3 separate regions of the Homo sapiens genome follow, and regions 2 and 3 are each linked to region 1. Evidence: promoter capture Hi-C in human tissues and cell types (Jung and others, 2019). All regions are on one chromosome and are shown on one strand. The core of a region is centred on a gene start or on the middle of the fragment in contact, and the rest is flanking DNA. Distances in the headings are between cores, read along the strand shown. Region 1 holds the start of YWHAQ (tyrosine 3-monooxygenase/tryptophan 5-monooxygenase activation protein theta). Region 2 overlaps NOL10 (nucleolar protein 10). Region 3 has its middle 32 kb from the start of LINC01814.

Region 1 (4,873 bases), core at 130-2,629:
CCGAACTCCCCTCCTCTCCTGTTTATGGGGGGTGGGGGGGAGCACAACAGATACTCTTACTTGAAAAATAAAGTATCTGTTCAGATTTTCTAAGTAAATTTCCATTACTGGGTTTGGGAAAAAATCCCTACTACATTGTCTGTAACAAAAAGGTGCCTGCGCCTTCTTTCAACTGCCTGAAGCTTGTGAACCGACTGAATACATTTAAAGGGCTCACAGATCTCAGGACGCAGTCTCCCCGCACAAGAAACTTAAAAACGCCTTTCAGTCTCGCAGAGACCTACTTGGATGTTTCCAAGTTCCATCGTTTGGTAGCTACCCAGCATCTGGGGCGAAAAAAAAGGACTTATCCTTGGAAAAGCGGCTTCTTGAGTCTCAACAACCGGAGGGACACAGTAGGGAAGTCAGGGCTCACCTAAAACCCTCCACCCCAGCAGACAGTCCGGCAAGCCCCGGCTCACGTTTGTTTCCGTGCCCGCGAAACTCTCAATGAAAAGCATCTCACAAAAGGCCTCCCCTGCTCCCCGCGCCGAGGACTCACCAGCACCGTGGTGCAGATGGATCTCAGCTCGGACTCCACTTTCTCCCGATAGTCCTTAATCAGCTGCAACTTCTTGTCGGAGGTGTCGGTCTTCTGCTCGATGCTAGAGATGACCCTCCAGGCGGACCTGCGGCCCCCGACCACGTTCTTGTAGGCCACGGAGAGCAGGTTGCGCTCCTCGTTGGACAGCTCGGCGCCCTGCTCGGTCACTGCCTTCATGCAGGTGGCCATGTCGTCGTAGCGCTCGGCCTGCTCGGCCAGCTTGGCCTTCTGGATCAGCTCAGTCTTCTCCATGGCGGGCGCGGGGCCGGGGCCGGGGCGGAGGGCGAGGAGAGCGAGGGCGAGCGCCGACCCGCAGCGGGAGGAGCCTCGAGAGCTGCGGAGGGGCGGGGCGGCGAGGCGAGAACAAAAAGCAGAGAGGGAGCGCCGTCAGACAATGCGGCCCGCCGCCCGCTTTTGTCTCCCGCACACGCGGCCGCTTGAATTTCCCTCTCCCCCGCCCCCTCCCCCGCTGGGCACCCGGGGAGGCCGCGGCCCGCGGCTGGAGGAGGCGGGGGCGGCGCGGAGGCCCCGCGCGCAGGGAGCCCGAGCCGCGGCCGCTCCCGCCACCCCCGCCCGGCCGGCCCAAGATGGAAGCGACCGTTGGCCCCGCACCTTCCCGCCCGGAGCCGTCCCTGAGGGGAGCGGCATCGACAACCGGCTGCTCTCAAGGGCGGCACCTCCGCCCGGCCCTCAATCCGAGCGCGGCCGGAGGAAGCCCGCGGGCCGACCCAGGCGCTCACCTTCACGTCTCCGCGGCCGCGACGCGAGTCCCACCACTTTGATCTGCTTTTGGCTTTAGCTGAGGACCCTCCCGTGTCAGCCTACCCCGGGGCCGAGGGGCGGTCCACCGCCCAATGATGCGCCGAGCTTCTCCCGAGAGTCCCGCCCCCAGCGCGCCGCTGGCCAATGAGGACCGAGCGCGCGGAAGGGGGCGAGGGGGGCGGAGCGGGAGGGAACGCGGAGGCTAGGAGGGTGGGTCGGTACGGGGAAGTTCGGTTGGCCGGCAGGCTGCGGCTTCGGCCACGGGGTTTCCTCCAATTAGATCCAGGGTAAAAGGACGTCACTGTTGCCATGGCGATGCCGTTACCAACTCCCCTCAGCCTCCCCGCCACCCCGGCACTTCTGGGTGCGGCACGAGACCCAGAGGCGCGCACGACCTCCTAGGCGGCGGCTGCGTCTCCCGCTGCGGATGGTGCATTGCATCTCACGGGCTCTGGCCGAGGCTGGACTTCGGAGGGTGACATATTCAGCTGTTTTAGAGCACGGGGGCCTTTCTTTCCTCCACCTTTCTATCCGTGACAAAGGTTTGGATCCCAAGACACTAAACCCAGACCTTAATGACGTTGCCATTAGGGCTCCGAATTAAGCAAACCGCATCCCCATTAAAGAAGAATTGATTCTGGAGACGGTGTCTTCAGTATGGCATTTACATGATAAATTCAAGTTTTCAGATGGGCATCCTAAAACAAAAAATTCCCTTGTGAAAAGGTAGGTCCCAGAAGATCCAGGGGAGTTTCTGTGACAATGCCAAGTATTGTGGTTTTCTTTAAAATGAGAAATGACATTAAGCACAATTTGCAGGAAAACACCTATTACTACCCCTTCCCACCCCCGCAAAAAAAAACCCTGCCCATAACATCTCTCCCCGCAAAAAAAAAGCAATTTTTATGTATCTTTTAGGCTTTCCAGGTTATGCACCTAAATACATCATTTTTCACATCGTTGTCACATGTGCACACGCTTTTGTTTCTGGTATTATTTGTGAGAGGTCACTTGAAAAGCTGAAATCCTCTCCCTGGATGTTGATTTCTGATTTTCTCCTCCTGGGGAACACCCTGCTGAAGCGAGAAAGATTCCCCCAGGCCCCTCCCATTCAGGGTCATCCCTGGCAGCTCCCTTTCCTCTTAAACCACTCCTGTCTCTCCTTGCACTTCCCCAGTTCCCTAACTCCATCCAGGTAGGGTGGCTGCCCTGCCCGTCTGGCGCGTGGTCCCTGTGCCATCTTAAGATGAGAATTGCCCTCTGGGTTCACGCTGCTATGATCCCGATTCCAGCAGGTCTAAGGAGAATGGATCATAAAGAATTTCCCATTCTGAGTGGAGACTGGAGCAAATCCGGAGAATCTCTAGAATGGGAGATTTGAGAGTGCAGACAGATGGGAGGAGAAGGTGCCGACTTTCCAGAAATTCAGACTCCCTCTTGACTGCCCCTCCCTGTCCTGACTTGTGAAGGTTGCTTTGTGCTTTGACAGACAGGAGCGGCCTGGATTGGAAAGGGCCTGTGTCTTAATGCAGAAATGCCTTACTATGTTCCAGCCTTCTAATGGAGGGCCCTGCTGTTATTTCTGGAATCCCTGGGGCCCCGCTACAGACACATGAGTGTTTATGGCCCTGTGGGCTGGGGTGGAGCTGGACACCGAGAAATCCCAATGGAAAGAATTTGCATGTGGAAGGTCAGATAAAATGCCTTCTGTATGACCAGTGAATTTCAAGCTCACCAAAATTAGAGGCAACCCGGGCAAGGGGAGAAGCCAGTGGAGGTGGATGGGGGATAGAGACCCAGGAGAGGAAATTGTCAGGGGATGGAACCTCTGTGGTAGAGAGGGACTACCAGAAGGAGCAAGCACACTAAATTCTTTGTCAGAAAGTCTAGGCTGTGCTGTGGTCTCCCCCAGTGACCTTGGGCAAGTTTTTGCTGCTTTCTGTACCTTAGTCTCTGAAATTTCTGCTTTCATTCAATCAAATATTTATTGAACACCAACTCATCTAGTTGCAATCATCTGGAATCATGGGTAAAAACTGCTTCCAACCAATAACACAGTATAAAATTGCATTTTAGGAAGATTCAGAGGACCCTCTACATAGCTAAAGGCTTCTGTGCCTGAAAGAACTCGGGTTGGAGAGAAACAAGGCTCTGGGAACTTGAAGTCCCTGGACACAGAAAGAGCTAACCTGTGTTGAGTGATTGCATATGTCAAGCACTATTTTAAGTCTTTTGCAAGAATTAACTTATCCAATCTGCTTAATGCAACTACAAAGTAGGTGTTATTATACTCACTATCTCTATTTCACAGACAAGGAAATTAAGGCACAGGGTGGTCAAGCATGACGTACAGGGCCACACAGCTAGAGAGCGGCAGAACCTTGGATATGGACCCCATGCAGTTTGGGTGCCAAAGCCCATCTTTTTAACCACTGCTGAGGCTGCCTCACCAAGTCTCCCCAGATCTCTGCTAGATGCTGTAGAGATCCTAGGATGGATCAGACCAGCCTCTGTCTTCTAGGAGCTTCACCCTAATAAATGTGAAACCTGTTAAGCATCACATCCAACATACTGGGAAGAAGTGCAAGGAACAGACAGCTAGCAAAGGGAGTACTGAGAAATTATTACTTTATTTATGAAGTTCTTATTATTTTTTCTAAGTTACCTGGTATGAAGAAGCTCCTGGAACAAAAAGGAGCACATTAACATGGAGCCAGAAGACCCTAAATTCAGCCCTGCTATTTATATGTGATTTGACCTTGGATACCTTGATCTTCTCTGAAACTCAATTCTCTCTACCTGTAATCTATAAAAATAATCCCAGCTGGGCACAGTGGCTCATGTCTGTAATCCCAACACTTTGGGAGGTCGGGGTGGGTGGATTGCTTGAGCCCAAGAGTTCCAGACCAGTGTAGGCAACATGTCAAAAACCTGTCTCTACAAAAAACATAAAAATTAGCTGGGTGTGATGGCGTATGCGTGTAGTCCCAGCTACCCGGGAGGCTGAACATGGGAGGATCGCCTGAGGCCAGAAGGTCGAGGCTGGCATGAGCCATGATTGCACCACTGCACTCCAGCCTAGGCAACAGAGTGAGACCCTGTCTCAAAAATCATCATCATCATCGCTACATCAAAGAGTTGTTTGGAGATTAGATGAGCTGTCACATAGGGAAATGCTGAGCATATAGCAAGTGTTCCATAAGTAGTGTTTTCTTCTTTCCTTCTTTCCCTCTGCTTGGAGGTGGGGTACGGCGCTGGCAGGATGCTATCCTGCTGCAAGGAGCCTTAGAACTTTATTAAATGTTTAGTGAAAGCTTATCTCTTGAATCATTGTTGTAATTAGTGCAGTTAATGGTCTACAGAATGGCTACATTCCATGTACATTTCAGAATGAATGAGTCCTTCAGGTTAAGCTCACTCTCATAAATCGTTTCAGTGATTTATTTGCTCAGACCAGTGGATCACCAGAAACTTCTTCCTTTCCTGCCATATGGCAGCTAGTTTAGTGACAAGCAAACATCTGAGTGG
Region 2 (4,846 bases), core at 2,232-4,731, 1.0 Mb after region 1:
TCTTGGGATGAGACCCAAGTCTAAACATGAAATTCATTCATGCTTCATATACACTTTATACACACAGACTGAAGGTAATTTTATACCTTTAAACATTTTATATTTTTAATAATTTTTGGCAGGAAACAGACTTTAGGTTAAGTCTCATGTTTGGATTTTCCACTTGTGGAGTCATGTTGGCACTCAAAAGAGTTTTAAATTTTGGAGCGTCTGCATTTCAGATTTTTGGATTATAGAGGCTCAACCTCTACGTTCTCTATCGGCCAACATTCTCTCTACTGTTCTCTTTTGTTTCCAGAGATTGTGGGACAAATATGGTCATTCACTATTTTGCCCCAGATATGTGCTATGATCATAAGGCAAAGAAAACACCAAGTCTCCAACCCTGAAATTCAAATTTAAGATGAAGGTGGGGGAGATTTTTACAAATCTATATATAATATCTACACAGAAGAAGGGGGCTGATAAAATATCTACATAAAAAAGAGACTGATACAAAGTGCCTGACCCTTGACTTAGGGAAAATGCGTAGGAAGCCACTGAACCCTGCTGCCTTCCTTCACAGCGCTTAGTCACAGATCTGTTTATCACCACCCCTCACCTAGATTGTAAGCTCACAAGGGCGGTGAGTGTACAATAGAGAACATGTTGGTTTTCTTCACCAACATATTCCTGCAGCCTAGTACCGTACTCAATATATCCTTACTGAACAAATACAAGCACTTGTTGGTCTCCTACATTTACTTTTATAATATAGGAAGACAAAATAAAAATATTAAGAGACAAAATAGCAAAACACTCGTCCATCTAGGAATTTCATGTATTTCTTATTTTTTTTAAGAGAGTCTGTGTCACCCAGGCTGGAGTGCGGTAGCACGACCTCGGCTCACCGTAACCTCTGTCTGCCAGACTCAAGTTATTCTCATGCCTCAGCCTCCCAAGTAGCTGGGATTACAGGCACGTGCCAAAGCATGCTCAGCTATTTTTTTGTATTTTAGTAGAGACAGGGTTTCGCCTTGTTGGCCAGGCTAGTCTCAAGCTCTTGGCCTCAAGTGATCTACCCGCCTCGGCCTCCCAAAGTGCTGGGATTACAGGCATGAGCCACCATGCCTGGCCCATCCAGGAATTTTTGACACTTATTTTCAAGATACTGTCAAATCTACCGTTAAACTAAAACAACATATACTCTGGATAGCTGATAAAATATGGCATCTTTGGCCGGGCACAGTGGCTTACACCTGTAATCCCAATCCCAACACTCTAAGAGGCCGAGACAGGAAGACTGCTTGAGCCCAGGAGTTGGCGACCAGCCTGGGCAACATAGTGAAACCCTGTCTCTACAAAAAACCAAAAAAAAAAAAAAAAAAAAAAAAAACACCAAACAAAATTAGCTGGGTGTGGCGGCATATACCTGTAGTCCCAGATACTCGAGAGGCTGAGGTAGGAAAATCACCTGAGCCCAGAAAGTTGTGACGCTGCAGTGAGCCATGATCACACCAATGCACTCCACCCTGGGAGACAGAGTGCGACCTTCAATCAAAGAAAAAAAAAAAAAGTATCTTCTTAATGAAGCTGAGGAGTAAGGCTGTGTTCTTAAGACTTTGGAAAATTATGCCAAAACACACCAGAACAGTAATGTTTCAAATACTGAACTTGAAAAAAGATACCATCTATATAGGAAGAAGATCACATAGCGATGATTAAAAAGTATCCATAAGTACCTCTCTAACAGACAACAGTCATTGACATAGTCATGGAGTTTAGAACTAGACTAACAAATTCAATTCACCACAGACAGAAGTTAAAATTGTTTGCACCTAAATTTGTTTTTGTCACAAAACCCTTAGAGGCTGGGTGTGGTAGCTCACGCCTGTAATCCTAGCACCTTGGGAGGCCCAGATGGGTGGATCACTTGAGGCCAGGAATTCAAGACCAGCCTGGCCAACACAGCAAAACCCCATGTCTACTAAAAATACAAAAATTAGTCAGGTGTGGTGGTGCGTACCTGCAATCCCAGCTACTTGAGAGGCTGAGGTAAGAGAATCGCTTGACCCAGGAGATGGAGGTTGATTGTGCTACTGCACTCTAATCTGGGCCACGGAGCAAGACACTGTCTCAAAAAAAAAAAAAAAAAAAAAAAAACACACACACACACTAAAACCAAAAACCCTTACAGAAAAAAACCTGAGAAAAAGACTATAATATCTATTTGTATTTCTTCATTGAGCAAGAAAAAAATCTGCCAGACTGCAAATATTCATACATTTACTAGAAAAATGTCCATGCCATTTCCCTAAAACTGACTTCCCAAAGCTATAATGATTTCAAAAGCATCTCCCTGACAACCCCTAAAATTCTGCAGCACCTACTGCCTTGCCATCTTTACAGGTGCAGGAGCACAGATGTCTGCCCTAGCCCAGTGACTGAAGCCCTGAGGAGATACCAGCGTTGAACCCTGTGATGGCGTCAGAAGGCCTCACCTCTGCGGGGAGTGTGCTACCTACTCAGCTGAGAGGCTTAGAAACATTCACTAAACAACCTTTTATTACATTCCAAAAAATGTGGCTTCCAATTGTGCATTTCCTTTGGTTTGCGTGCCTCTGTGAAGCTGTGTGGTATGTATTTTTGAGGCCTTATGCTTCTTAACACATAGTGTCCTCTATTTGCGAAGACAGAGTTTTGTGGGTTTATGAACTGCTGGATAAGCTCCAGTGCGATTCTGAACAGACGCAGAAGCACTAGTGCAAGTTAGAAGGGTTCTTCATGTTTTTAACCGCCTCATTTGCAGGCTCCAAGAGTACTTTCCAAATTTTAAATTAAATGGTAAATGTTAAAATATTTAATCAGTGTTTTATTTTAAACAGTCAAAATATTTTAATAGAAATAATATAGGAGTTTCTTAAGAAAATGTTTGAAAATAAAATAACTGGCCAGGTGCAGTGACTTACACCTGTAATCCCAACACTTTGGGAGGCCAACGTGGGAGGATCGCTTGAGGCCAGGAGTTTGAGACCAGCCTTGGCAACACAGTGAGATCCTCTCTCTACAAAAAAACAGCATAAAAATTAGCTGGGCTTGGTGGCACATGCCTGTAGTCCTACCTACTCACAAAGCTGAGGCGGGAGGATGCTAGAGCCCCAAAGGATGAAGCTGCAGTGAGTTATGATCACGTCACTGCACTCCAGACAGGGTGACAGAGCAAGACCCTGTCTCATTCAAAAATAACGTAACGTGACGTGACGTGACGTGACGTGACGTGACGTAACGTAACGTAACGTAACGTAACGTAACAGTACCTAACTGCCATTCTTGAAAGCTGGGTGCAGTATTTATTCTTTATAACATCTTAAATAGTGACATTAAAAAAAGAAAAAAACAAAAACAAAGCACATACCCTTATAGCTGAATTCCCTTTTTTTTTTTTTTTTTTTTTTTTTTGAGATAGAGTCTCACCCTGTCACCCAGGCTGGAGTGCAATGGCATGATTTCAGCTCACTGCAACCTCCGCTTCCCAGGTTCAAGCAATTCTCCTGCCTCAGCCTCCCAAGTAGCTGGGATTACAGGTGCCCACAATGACCCCCGGCTGATTTTTTGTCTCTTTAGTAGAGACGGGATTTCACCATGTTGGCCAGGTTGGTCTTGAACTCCTGAACTCGTGATCCGCCCGCCTTGGCCTCCCAAAGTGCTGGGATTACAGGCGTTTGAGCCACCGTGCCTGGCCTTTTTTTTTTTTTTTTTTTTTTTTTTTTGAGACAGATTCTTGCTCCGTTGCCCAGGCTGGAGTGCACTGGTGTGGTCTCGGCTCACTGCACCCTCTGCCTTCCAGGTTCAAGCGATTCTCCTGCCTCAGCCTCCTGAGTAGTTGGGACTACAGGCACACACCACCACGCCTGGTTAATTTTTGTACTTTCAGTAGAGATGGGGTTTCACTATGTTTGCTAGGCTGGTCTCAAACTCCTGCCCTTAAGTGATCTGCCCATCTCAGCCTCCCAAAGTGCTAGGATTACAGGCGTGAGCCACCATGCCTGGCCAACTGAATTACTTTTATTCTTCTAAATCAAACAGCTTGGGCCAGGCGCGGTGGCTCACACCTGTAATCCCAGCACTTTGGGAGGCCGAGGCAGGCGGATCACAAGGTCAGGAGATCAAGACTATCCTGGCTAACACAGTGAAATCCCGTCTCTACTAAAAATACAAAAAATTAGCTGGGCGTGGCAGCGTGCGCCTATAGTCCCAGCTGCTGGGGAGGCTGAGACAGGAGAATGGCGTGAAGCCGGGAGGCAGAGCTTGCAGTGAGCCGAGATCCTGCCATTGCACTCCAGCCTGGGCGACAGAGCGAGACTCCATCTAAATCAAACAGCTTCCCAAACAAATAGTTTTCCTCCTACATTTTTCCTCAAGTTTACACATCCACATTACCAAGCAGCAAGCAATCACTCACACCCCAACCACCACCACCAAGCAATGAGTGGCTGCAGGAGTGCCCTGATATGCTAGGGGCTCGGAATTCAGGAGCATTTCCAACAGAAACACCATTAAGCAGAAAGGTTTTGGGTTGGGTGCCATAGGGGACTTGGATTCCCTCTGAAGTCTACATAGTTGCCAAGGATGTTAATTATAAAGAACTAACCTAAGATTAAATTATGTTTCAGAGGAAAAAGCAAGCTTGAAAAATTATTCTTGGCATTAGTCTCTGAAGCTGCAGACGAATTAGACCCTGGAGAAAACAAACAAACAAAACAATAGAACCTGGTCTCTGAGAGAATTAAAAAAATAAAAATAAAAATAAAAAATAAGGAAAGAACTGAGAAAATGGGACAGGGGCTGCAGACAACCCATTTGGTCT
Region 3 (4,637 bases), core at 2,101-4,600, 1.1 Mb before region 1:
TCAGGTTCCTGCTTCAAAACCCTTTCCTGTGACTTTCAGCTTTCCTCTTCCTTTCACAGTGATCAGCCTCTTTTCCCATCATCCAAATTCCAACCACTTCAGGGGACCTTCACCAAACTGGCAAGAATGAACATTTGGCTCCATTCAACAAACATTCATGCACCAAACATTTACCAAGCACTCACTTTGCATTAAGGGAGCCACCCTAGAACCTGTCTTCACGTCCCCTTCATGGCTTTGTGCATCTTCTCGAGGCCTCTGAGTATGTCATTTCTGTTCACTCTATCCAGATTAACAAGACGGCTCTGCACTTCTTCTGTGCCTGGACAGTCTAGGCCCTCACAAGCAGCAAGCAGTATCTCCACCTGGCCCTGGCCTCCGTGGGCTCACAGCTAATGATGTCTCTCTCATCATCTGCCCACTTTAACTCCACCCTCTCATTCTGCGTCAAACACTCTGCCGAGCCTTCCTGGAGACCCTTCAGAGCTGGTGATATGGTTTGGATGTGTGTCCCTTCCAAATCTCATGTTGAAATGTGATCCCCAGTGCTGGAGGTGGGGCCTGGAGGGGGGTGTTTGTGTCATGGGGGCCCTCATGAATGGCTTGGTACCCTTCCGGTGGTAATGAGTTACCGCAAGATCTGCTGGTTAAAGTCTAGCTAGGGCCTTCCCCGCTCTCTTGTTCCCTGTCTCACCATGTGACGCACCTGCTCCCCTTCACCTTCTGCCATGAGTGGCAGCTTCCTGATGTTCTTGCCTAAAGCAGATATGCCAGCTCCCATGCTTGTACAGCCAGCAGAACGGTAAGCCAAATACACCTCTTTTCTTTGTAAATTACCCAGCATCAGGTCTTCCCTTACAGCAATGCAAAATGGACTAACACAGTTGGGAAGAGAAGAGGTGACACATCTGAGACCCTCAGAGAACAAATTCAAGAGTTTTTAATGGAGAACCAGAGTGTACAGTGCCAAGGAGAGGCCAGCAGGTGCTGGGGCAGTAAGAAGAAGCTATAGGTGGGATGGGCCCTTGGCTGGCCTTCAAGGGTAGACAATAGTAATCGTGGGGATGGGAGCTGATACTGACTGAGTGCTAACACGATGCCAAGCGATGTGCAGGGGCTACCTTATTTAATCCTCACAGTCACCTCATGACACAGGCGTTATTCTTATTCCCATTTTACAGGTGAAGGGACTGAGGCACATAGAACCAACTAATTTACTTAAGGTTGTGCAGCTTGTAAATGGCAGAGCCAGGATTTGCACACAGGCATCTGGCTTCGGGGCCAGTGCTCTTCAACACCACCAGGAGAGTTTGGATGTGTCGGCTATCTATAGCTGTGCAATGAATTTCCCCAAGTTCAGCAGCCTAACGCAACACAAGTAGATTATGTCATAGTCCCTGTGGGCCGGGGACCTGGGAGTGGCCAGCTGGTCCCCCTGGCTCCGGGCATCTCACAAGCTGCAATCAAGCTGACAACCTGTGGTCATCTCGGGGCCTGCTTGGGGTAGGATTTGGTTCCAAGCTCACTCACATAGCTGTTGGCTGGAGACCTCGATTCCTTACATGGGGGCCTGTCCCGAGGCCAGTGACTTCCTTCAGGGTGAGTGACCAAGCAAAGGCATGAGTGACAGTGAGCAAGACATGTGGCCTCATCACGGAAGCGGCATATTGTCACCTTTGCTGTAGTCTGTGGTCTATCCACGAGAAGCAAGTCCTGAGATCCAGCCCACGCTCCAGGGATGGGCACGATGAGAGGCTGTGACAACAGCAGTGGGGGTCACCAGGCAGTCCTAGAGGCTGCCGGCCACACGGGCCCATGGAGGAGCCCAGGTCACAGACACCACTGTCCTTAGTTTGATTCTTCACCCAGGAGCCTGACTGTGTTCCTTAGGTAATAATAATAGCCCCAAGGGGAGCTAAAACTTGATTCCCAGTCTGAGAGATTTCTTCCTCCTGTTCCTCCCAGAATCCAAGTGCCAAATCAGACGAGCACGTCTTAAAGATCATCTGCGCGCTCGGCTATGTAAAGAAACACAAGCGTATTTGTATTTCGCTGGTGTCAGGCCGAAAACTTGGCACCATCCCTCACTCCTCCGCTCCCTTGCCATACGATTCCAGTCAGCCCCCAATTCCTCTAAAGCAGTGATTTTTTTCATCTCTCCTTTTCTCTTTGACTGCCCTCAATGAAGAGAAACCCTAATGGTCCTGGCGTTTCCACTGCTCCTTCAGTCACTCCCAGGTGTCATGATAAGGGCCCTGTCATACAGTCCTAATTGCTGTTCAAAGACCATCCGTGGCTCCCACAGCCAACAGGCAAGGACCATGCTTGAGTCTGGCCTGCAGGGCCTTCAGCTTCACAGCCCGGCCCACTCCCCACACCACCCCCTGGCTCCAGTCCCCCGGTCCACATGCCTGGCACCTTCCCACTTCTAAGCCTTCATCTACCCCTTTCCTAACCCTCAAATGCTTTTCCCATTCTTCTTACCCAAATCCTGGTGGCCCTTCAAGGTCAAGTTCATGCCCTCCCTTAATTATGAATTTTTCCAGATGACTCCAACTCTTCAAGGCTGGACTTGGCAAGAGGCAGTGTGTGTTCAGCGGGATCAGTGAAATCAAAACACTCATGACCACAAGCCAACTGCTCAGAAAATCATCTGGGTTTGCCTCCCCATGCCTGCACCCTGCTCTTGTCTTCACTACCTGGTGACTCCGTATGGGTCACCTGGACTTAGCCTTCCAGCTCTCCTGGGGAGCAGTTCTCAATTCCCTTCCCTCTGAACACCTGCTTCTATGCAGCCCCATGTGACTACTTTCTCCCTCCCCCAAATCTCCTTCTCCCCGGATCCGTTCTCACTACCCCACCACACCACCGTCAGGGCACAGCCCTCTCTAGACGCCCACTGCAGTCACTGTCTGGAAGATGACTCATCACATCCCCTCAGACCCCTGTGTAGTTTTCGATCTTTCTATCTAGTTCCCAACGAGACTTTGAGCACTTTCTTGACAAGTCCAATTCATCTCTGAATCCAGAACAGGGTGGGGACAGAGGGCATATACACATAATCCCAGGAAAGACAAAGGTGAAAATTGTCCATGGATATACCTTTGCGGGAAAAAAAAAAGAATACACTGAAGTGGCTTTACTCTATCTTCTTAACATTCAGAAATACAAAGCTGTCTTTCCACCCACAATCCCGGACTATAAACTCAGCAGCACACGCACAGAGGGTGTAGAGAACAATGGGGGCGAGCACAGGGAGGGTGCAGCCGAGTCCCCCTTTTCCACACTCGGGGGTGAGACAGCGGGGCCTCAGATGCAGATGTGAGAAGCGGATGTGAAGCAGATCTGGGAGGGCCTCAGCAGCCTCACACAAGACCTCCTGACATCAGCATACACCCCGTCTTCCCGACAAGTTTCCCTTTTCCTGGTCCCCATTAGAGAACACCCACATTACTCATTGCACAGTTACCGTTGAACTTTCTATTCTGACGTTCTCTTTTCACACTCGTTCAGAAATACACGCTGGTACCATTTCATTTGCTTTTAAATAGCACGCCGAAGAGGAGACATGCCCAGTGGTCTCCGAGTCATGCCCCACAGGATCCAGGTCATTTGCCTAAAAGGCAGAAGTCAGACCTGGTGAAAGCTCACAGGTAACAGCCGGGGGGCCGCCCTTGCACCTGGCATAGGCCTCACCAACCAGGTGCCTGTGCAGAGGTCTCTTAACTGTTTAAACTAAGGTAGGTTTTTCTGAAAAGCAGCCTCTCTCAGATTTTTTGGCCTCAGGACCACTTTGCCCTCTTAAAAATTATTCAGCATCCTCAAAAGCTTTTGTTCATGTGAGTTTAGATTTGATGGCATTTGCTGTTTTACAAATTAAAACTGAGAAAATTTTAAAATATGTATCAACTTGTATCAAAAATAACAATAATTCATGACATGTAAACATAAATTTCATATTTTAAGAAAAATAACTACATTTTCTTTCTTTCTTTTTTTTTTTTTTTTTTTTTTTTTGAGACAGAGTCTTGCTCTGTCACCCAGGCTGGAGTGGCAGTGGCCCAATGTCAGCTCACTGCAACCTCTGCCTCACGGTTTCAAGCGATTCTCCTGCCTCAGCCTCTCCAGTAGCTGGGGTTACAGGCGCCCACAACCATGCCCAGCTAATTTTTGTGTTTTTAGTAAAGACAGGGTTTCATCATGTTGGCCAGGCTGGTCTCGAACTACTGACCTCAAGTAATCCATCTGCCTCGGCCTCCCAAAGTGCTGGGATTACAAGCGTGAGCCACCGTGCCCCAGCCACTATACTTTTCAAAACAAAAATATCAGTGAGAAGAATGGCAATAATTTATGCCTGTTCAAAGCTCCTGGGTGTCTGACTTAGAAAACAGCCAGGTTGTCAGATCTGCTTCTGCCCTCAGCCTGGGCCATTAGATCACTTTAGCTGAGGCATGTGAAGAAAATTCAGCCCGAAACAAATATGTAGCTAGAAAAGAGGGACATGTCTGTAATAGACTTTTCAGACAATTGTGGCTATTCCTCTTCCATACTATACCAAAATTCAAATCATGATAGTTTCTCATAGGTTAGCTGCACTGTTGAATGAGAACCCATCTCACCTATTTTTTTTATATGAC

What was found. The method cuts DNA at HindIII sites, captures the fragments that hold promoters and counts their contacts. A contact is called where the count stands out against the background at its distance.
Region 2: a contact is called between a fragment that was not itself captured here and the fragment with the promoter of YWHAQ in region 1, in 1 of the 25 tissues and cell types used here (small bowel).
Region 3: a fragment that was not itself captured here is called in contact with the fragment with the promoter of YWHAQ in region 1 in 1 of the 25 tissues and cell types used here (aorta).

The regions. Positions count from the first base shown.
Region 1 is chr2:9,629,618-9,634,490 of GRCh38, forward strand. YWHAQ (tyrosine 3-monooxygenase/tryptophan 5-monooxygenase activation protein theta) reads right to left here and starts at 1,380. Exons shown (of 6, transcript NM_006826.4): 1 at 1,324-1,380; 2 at 542-917. The coding sequence starts at 835. RefSeq lists enhancers at 1-868, 612-711 and silencers at 832-1,181, 1,382-1,481, 1,532-1,701. The HindIII fragment of the contact is 8,846 bases long and covers 18-4,873 here.
Region 2 is chr2:10,635,072-10,639,917 of GRCh38, forward strand. All of the region lies in intron 13 of NOL10 (nucleolar protein 10), which reads right to left. Among named protein-coding and RNA genes, the nearest start is that of NOL10, 52 kb to the right of the region's middle. The HindIII fragment of the contact is 3,986 bases long and covers 1,489-4,846 here.
Region 3 is chr2:8,549,087-8,553,723 of GRCh38, forward strand. No RefSeq gene overlaps it. Among named protein-coding and RNA genes, the nearest start is that of LINC01814, 32 kb to the right of the region's middle. The HindIII fragment of the contact is 3,310 bases long and covers 1,696-4,637 here.